Linked DNA regions of Homo sapiens: region 2 is linked to region 1. The links are contacts of gene promoters, found by promoter capture Hi-C in blood cells and fetal thymus (Javierre and others, 2016). All regions are on one chromosome and are shown on one strand. Each heading gives the region's core, a stretch centred on a gene start or on the middle of the fragment in contact. The rest is flanking DNA. Distances are from core to core; before and after follow the strand shown.

Region 1 (3,775 bases), core at 366-2,865:
GAGGATGTTCTTAGGACCCCAGAGGCATGGCAAAGGGACAGTGTGTGGCTGAAAGAGCTTGAGTCAGTGTGTGCCCAGGGCCCTCACGCCTGCCATTGTGTTTAGGACTTGGGCTTTAATCTCTGGAGCGAGATTCAAATCCTGCCTCAACTACTGATTGGCTATATGGCATTAAGCACTCGCCTTACATTTTTAAAGCCTCCATCTCCTTGTCTTTTAAAGAAGGGAATTGATGATGTTATGAAAACTGGATGAGAGAGTTTGCATATTGGTTAGATGGTTCCTGCAGTACTATTTTCATTATTTCCCTCTCTGAGCCTCAGTGTCTTCATCTGTAAAATGGGAATAATTAGCCTCACCTTGCCTAGGCTTGAAAGATCAGCCGGTAGTTTGAGACCTGCCTGGGCAATATAGCAAGACCCTGTTCACCACAAAAAAGGAAAAAAAAAAGGATGAAAGATCAGTTTGTGAGTCAAGTAAGACACACATGTGAACGGGATGTGTGGAGTGCTTTGCTAACGCGCCATTGTCTTAGTTACTATGTGCCTGGTTTTCTGCTCAACCCTCCAGGGTACGACTTTGTACAAGTCCCCAGGTCTCAACAGGACAGTGGGTGATCAGCCCACCTGAGAAGTGAAACTCATGATTTGGGTGAGTAGACTAGAGGAGAATCACTTCTTTCTTTCTTTTTTTTTAGACGGAGTCTCGCTGTGTCACCCAGGGATCTCAGCTCACTGCAACCTCTGCCTCACCGGTTCCAGTGATTCTCCTGCCTCAGCCCCCCGAGTAGCTGGGATTACAGGCACACGCCACCACACCTGGCTAATTTGTTATTATTAGTAGAAACGGGGTTTCACCATGTTAGCCAGGCTGGTCTTGAACTCTTGACCTCAGACGATCCACCTGCCTCAGCCTCCCAAAGTGCTGGGATTACAGGCATGAGCCACCATGCCCGGCCTGAGAATCATTTCTTGAGCTATGATCTGTAACATTCAAATGAGCCTCAACGGACACAAAACAGAAAAATCATCAAAAATGTCGGTGAAAAGTTCAGGTGGGAGAACTCAGGTGATGGTGCAGACAGAAGCAAGTAGGGGAGAAAGCTGGCTTCAGGGAGAGTGGTTAGGCCTTTGTGAGAAAGACTGGGGACTTCTCATATCATCCTCTGTGTCCCAGTTCCCAAAACACACACGCACATGGGCACATGCATGCAGGCACACAAAAACAAGCCCATACACCAGACGAAAAAATACAGATGCAGGTACACACACATGGACATGGACATGTGTGTGCCTGTGCCCATATAAACAAACATTAGTGCACACACACACTCACACACACACAGGCTCGGGCAGTATGTGCTCACACACAACCATACACACAGATACGCACAGAGGTACATTCACACACAGACCAACACACACAGGCACACAGATGCATGCACGCATGCACGTGCGCGCACACACACACACACGTGCACCCACCCTCAGTGATAACCTTCCAATCCACTGGCCTCTCCGAAATTAGCACAGACCATTTTCCCACGACCCTTTCTCGCTGAGCGTGTGATTCCAAAACTGTCCACAAGAAGGTGCTCGGGAGCCAGAATTCAGGCGTTCCCGGCCCGCGGACGCTTAGAGAGGGGAGCTTCGGAGTTATGGGGGGACCCACCCTTCCATTTAATAACTGAGAAAGCCACGGGAGGGGACTTGCTGGGCTCACAGCCAGTGATCCCTGCCCTGTTTCCTTATGGGGACTGCGGTCAGAAATGGGGAGTGGGGCAGAAACTGTCACTGTCACGGTCCTGTTTAGAGAGGAAGGTCGGAGAAACCAGTGCCGTGGAAGGCTCTGGGGCGTTGACAGGCGCTGTCCCCAGCTCACCGGCTCTATGACCCTGGGTAAGTTACCTGGCTTCTCTGTTCCTCAGTTTTCTCGTCTTCCCTGACCCAGGCTTTCCCGACTCCTCTAGGGGCCCCTTCCCCTCTCCATGAACACCTTCAGATCTCGGACTGTTTTCTCCACTCAAGTGGCATCTCAGCTATCCCCTCCCGGGTTAGGCCTCCCTGGCCCCTATTTAACGGTGTCCCCACCCCCACCACTATCTTGTTTGTACCAACACTTGCTGCCTGACAATGCACACTTGTTCATTTGTTCACGTTTATTTTGTCTTCTCCAGAAGAATGGAAACTTCGTCAGAGCAGGGACGTGAGGGTGAACTGCTCACCCGGGCACCGCTGGCGACCGGAACCCAGCTCCCTCCGGGCTCCGGGAGAGGCGGCCTCAGCTGTGTGCTGGTGCTGCCCTCCAGCGGCGCTGGGTCCCCATGGCACCTGGCTTTCTCCTGCTCCCCAGGGGCCTTTTCTTCTCCCGCCCACCTGTCACCAGCCGCCAGGGCAAGTCTCTGTGTGACTCTAGGGTGAAGGTGGAGGGACCTTGCCTCCGAGGATTCATCCCACCCGGATTCCGATGAGTGAGGGACCCTCTCTGGCACCTGGTGTTTGAATGGCCAGCCTCACAGTTAATAAAGACAAGTTTGGTATCAGCTGTGGGATCCGTCCAGAAAAAGACACCTTTGGGGCAGAAATATAATGGTGCCTGTCTCGACATAGTCTAATAAGGAAAGAAAGACAAGCCAGTCCAACGGTCCCATTTTACACATGAGGTCACTTCATCCCCACCTAGGACAGGAGGGTACAACGGCCTGGCCTAAGATAACCCTAGAATATGGTCACTCATTCTTCCACCCACTGAGAACCTCAGGGCAGTAGAGTTTTATGCAAAGCATGTGGTCCTGAAAAACTTGCATAATTCAAAGCGTGCATAATTTCTGACTAATTTTGCCAGAGAAATGAATGCAAAGTAGAAAGGATAGGTTGCATACATTACTCCAATTGTGGCATATTTTTGCCTTAATGCTGCTTTTTATTTCCCTGGCATTATCGCTAATATTTCATAACGCACTCTCTGCTAAATTAACAGTGCAGCATTTCCTGCCGGTGGTTTGGCCTTCTTCATAACGTTTTATCACATCTCACTTCCTTTCCAATGTTATCGATTTTCAGGTGCGTTTTTCAGCACCACCACTTAAAGAACACTTGGATGACATTGTTACAGGATATGGGTAAAATATTTAAAGTTATAATAACTGTGAACATTGAGAAAATGGCACACCAGTCACCAGAATCTCCTGCAGAAATTAGAAATTCAGAGGCATGTAAACAACAGTGCATGCATATAGAAAGCAGGTATTTCTATTTAATAACCAAAGCAACGTCGCCATGTGGCAGGTTTACAGTCCTCATTTAACAGCTCACTTAGTTCCTCCGACTCAAGGAAACTGCAATTCTTGACAGGTTTTTTTTTAACTGAGGGGCTTGGCATTATTTCCAGCTTAGTGCATAAACATGTATTAGCATTTTTATATTGCACCTTGCCAAAGTCACAGTTTAGACTCCCATAAACAGTGACTTCACCCTAAATGGTCACCCTAAATGGTTAAGGCTGTGTCCTTAACCCCAGAAGGGTGGAAATGTATGACTCCACCTAGTCATCTCAGATACGGATTTCAGAAATCTCAGCCACCCACCTCATACTTACACAGGGACCTTTTTGGAGGCAGCATCATCTGAGGCCGCTCTTGCCCAATTTGGCTGGCCCCACCTCCTCCCCAACGTCATCTTCTCTTGCAGTCTAGAGAGGGGGGCTACTCCCCCAATATAGCATCCATATTTAGATCCATGTTGGAGGGTGGGTAGAAAGGGGAGGTAGGATGAGG
Region 2 (4,323 bases), core at 12-2,511, 640 kb before region 1:
TGGGCGTAGGACCCTCCGAGCCATGTGCAGGATATAATCTCCTGGTGTGCCGTTTTTTAAGCCCGTTGGCAAAGTGCAGTATTAGGGTGGGAGTGACCCAATTTTCCAGGTGCTGTCTGTCACCCCTTTCTTTGACTAGGAAAGGGAACTCCCTGACCCCTTGCACTTCCTGAGTGAGGCAATGCCTCGCCCTGCTTCGGCTCGCACACAGTGCACTGCACCCACTGTCCTGCACCCACTGTCTGGCACTCCCTAGTGAGATGAACCCGGTACCTCAGATGGAAATGCAGAAATCACCCATCTTCTGCGTCGCTCACGCTGGAAGCTGTAGACCGGAGCTCTTCCTATTCAGCCATCTTGGCTACACCCCGCGCACCCCCCCTCCCCCCGCTGATATCATGGTATTAACAACTTTTTGTTGATACATTTGGCAACTTAGATTAAATGAACAAATTCTTTGAAAACACAACTTACCATATAAAAAAAGTAAAAAATACTGTAGTCTAATATTCATTTAAAAACTGAATCTGTAATTGAAAATTTTCCTACAAAGAAGCTTCCAGGGCCAGATAGCTTCACTGGAGAATTTCCACAAATATTTAAGGCAGAAACAGTGCTAATCTTATTTAAACTATTTCAGAAAAAAGAGAAATAAAAAACACCTCCAAACTTGCTTTACAAGACCAATATAAACCTGATTTTAAAAATCTGACATTTTATTATTATATTTTATAAGAAAGGAAAGAAAAAATTGCAGGCCAATATCACTCATAAGCATAAATGTGAAAATCCTAACTAAAATATTAGCAAATCAAACGTAGTGACATACAAAAATTATATATCATGACCACATGGTGTTTATTCTAAGAATGCAGTTACTTTAACATTATTTTAATGTAATTCACCACATTAACAGAATAAAGGAGAAAAAGCATATAATCATCTTGATAGATATAGAAACATTATTTGACAAATTCAACACTTTTTCAAATTAAACTACCAGAAAACAGGAATAGAAAGGAACTTTTCTAATCTAATGAAGGATATCTACAAAAACCCTTAGCTAACATCTTTTAACATAAACTAGTGAATGCTTTTCCTCTGAGGTTAGGAACAAGACAAGGCTACTATCGCTACTTCTATTCATCATCGTACTGAAGATCCTAGCCAGTGCAATATGGCAAGAAAAAAATTGAAAAGTATGAGACTTAAAACGAAAGAATAAAACTATTATTTGCTCACATACATGGTGATGTATGCAAAAAATTCAAAAGGGTCTATAAACAAACTATTAGAATTAATAAGCAAATTTGGAAAGGTCGTTTAAACAAGGTGACTTTTCAGAAATCAATTGTATATTTATATACTAGTAAAACAAATTGGAAATAGAACCTTAAAAACCACCATTTACAACTGAATTTTTAAAATCAAATAAGAATACATACAATGAAAAATTGCAAGATATCCACCCTATAAAACAGTGTTTAGAGAAATTAAATAAGACCTAAACACATGGATTTACATAAACACTTCATGTTTACAGATTGGAAGAATCAATATTGTTTCTCTCCAAATAGCAATCTCTCTCCAAATTGATCTACAGATTTTGTGACATCTCAATCAAAATACTGGAAGTAAATTGAAAAGCTGATTGTAAAATATACATATAAAAATGCAAAAAAAACCCAGAATAGCCAAAATGATGTTGAAGAAGAATAAAGTTGGAGGACTCGTACCATCAGATATACTTATTGTAAATCTACAGTAGTTAAGAAGACTATGTGGGTTTGGTGCAAAGACAGATAAATAGAAGAATGAAGTAGGATAGAGTCCAACAACAGACCCACACTTACATGGTCAACTGATTTTTGACAGTGGTGCCACTGCAATCCAGTGGGTGGAGAATGCCTTTTAAATAAATGGCCTAATGTCTTAGATCAATTGGATATTCATATGGGAAAAAAATGAAGCTTGATCCCTACCTCACACCAAAATTAATTTGAAATGGATTCTAGATCTACATGTGAAAAACAAAACAATAAAGCTTCCAAAAGAAAATACAGAATCATATCATTATGATATTGGGATAGTTAAAAAGTTGTTAGAACACCAAAGCCATTACCCATAAAATAGGCCTCATTAAAATTAAGAACTTCTGTTCATTAAAAGACATCAGGAGCGTGAAAAGGCAAAATATACACTGGGATAAGATATTGGCAATACATATATCTGAGAAATCAATAAAACAAAAAACAATTAAACTTTGGGCATAAAACTTAAGCACTTCACAAGAAAGGATATTCAAATGGCCAATCAACACATGAGAAGGTGTTCAACATTATCACTCATCAGGAAAAAGTCAATTGAAACCACAATGAACATCACTACAAACTTTCTAGAATGAGTAAAAAGAAAAAGATTGTGAATATTAAGTGTTGGCAAGAACGTGGCACACCTGGAACTCACTCATGTATTGTTTTTGAGAGTGTAAATTGATACAATTACTTTGGAGAACTGTTTGGAAATTTCGTATTAAGTGTACACCAAATTTTGATATTTACAGCTAAAAGCATTCTAACTGTTGCAAATAGGGTCATATTGCTTATATTATTTTGAGCATGTGCTTTCATTTTACAATATACCATGAACATTTTCATCCGTCAATAACTTTTTCCATAATAGGATTTTTAATGGCTGCACTGTATTCAACGTGTTATGAGACGTTTAGGTGTTGCCAGTTTGAATTAAAAATTTAAGCAATTTGAATTGTAGGTAACTACCCAAGATACATTAGAGTACACATGTCCATCAAAAAAGCATGTATGAAACTTTACAGCAGCTTTGTTTAAAATAGCCAAGAGTTAGACACAACTCAAATGTCCATCAACAGTAAAATGGATCATTGGTATAGTCATATAATGGGGATACCACACAGCAAAAAATGGAACAAACCTACTATTCTCAACAACATGAATGAATCACACAGATACAATGATGAGCACAAGGAGTAGGTGTAAAAGTCAACATACATGTAATTTCATTTATGTGAAGTTCAAGAATTGGCAAAACTCACTTGTGGTGATAGAATCTGAGTAATGGTTACTTCTGTGGGTACTGGCTGGGTGGAGGAACAAATGATTCCCCCATGACTCGAAATGCTCTGTTTCTTGATTTGGGTGTTGGTTATATGAGGGTTTTCAGGTTGTGAGAATTAAGCATGATTTGTGTAATTTTCTGTATATACGTTATACTTCAATGCAAAGTTAAAAATAGAATGCTAACAAGGAAAGCTGGTAACAATGGCAGATTACAAATCAATGCAAAGTTTTGGAGGGAAATTTAAGGAAAAGCCTTGATAATATATACAACCATTACCCAATATTTTGTTTCTAGAAAATTACCCCTGAAACCAAACAAATATGCAAAGATTTGTGCAGGGTGTTGTCACACCATTATGTATAATGGCAAAAACTGGCAACACCTAAATGTCTCACAACATGTTGAATACAGTGCAGCCATTCAAAATCCTATTACAGGAGTAAGTTATTGACTTTTGAAAATGTTCATGGTATATTATGAAATGAAAGAGCATGCTCAAAATAATACAAGCAATATGATCCTATTTGCAACAGTTAGAATGCTTTTAGCTGCAAATAATGAAATACCTTTCTAAAATAAGGGCAGATTATTATCTCAAATAACAGGAGTCCAAAGATAGGGCAATTTCAGGGTTGGCTAATGAAGTTGCTCAAAAATGTTATCCGGGATCTAGATTTTTTCTTTGGTGTTGGTTTTTGTTTTCAGCCTAGTTCTTCCTTGCTTGCTGGATGGCTGCAGCAGTTCCCTGAATCTCCACCTTATAGAGCCAAGCTGAGCAACAGAAAGAGGACCATCATCTTCTGTGGACCTCTAAGAGCAAGGAAAACATTCCCTCAAAGTCATTCTTGTGCATCTCACTGGCCAGAACTGTATCACATGTCCAATGTCTAAACTATTCACAGAAAAGGGAAATGGGATCACTGTCATTATCTTAAACCAATCATGATTGGATTCCCTGGAGCTGCGCTGTGCAGGGGGTCATTTTCCCTGAGCCCATGACAACAAGGAGCTTGAACACTTCTACAAAACAAGAGCTTTGCCAGCCAAGAAGAAGTGAGCAGAAGTGAAGACAGACTGCCACTGAATAGGCAACCCACAGTGTTCACCCCATCAAATACATACCAAAAAGGCATAAACCAAGCTCTGAACTTGCTCATAACCCTCACCTCTGGGTAGTAAAACTGTGGTTGATTTATTTTAGTGTTTTGCTCATGGTTTTTGTCA

The links. The method cuts DNA at HindIII sites, captures the fragments that hold promoters and counts their contacts. A CHiCAGO score of 5 or more calls a contact.
Region 2: a fragment that was not itself captured here is called in contact with the fragment with the promoter of LINC02716 in region 1 in 1 of 17 cell types (M2 macrophages); the score reaches 5.7 in M2 macrophages.

Annotation. Positions count from the first base shown.
Region 1 is chr11:45,769,817-45,773,591 of GRCh38, forward strand. LINC02716 (long intergenic non-protein coding RNA 2716) reads left to right here and starts at 1,616. Exons shown (of 2, transcript NR_027134.1): 1 at 1,616-1,898; 2 at 2,177-2,542. RefSeq lists an enhancer at 1,308-1,809. The HindIII fragment of the contact is 20,811 bases long and covers 1-3,775 here.
Region 2 is chr11:45,128,128-45,132,450 of GRCh38, forward strand. All of the region lies in intron 3 of LOC105376652 (a long non-coding RNA gene), which reads right to left. It also overlaps a transcript of PRDM11 not described here. Among named protein-coding and RNA genes, the nearest start is that of PRDM11, 16 kb to the right of the region's middle. RefSeq lists an enhancer at 1-491. The HindIII fragment of the contact is 1,414 bases long and covers 555-1,968 here.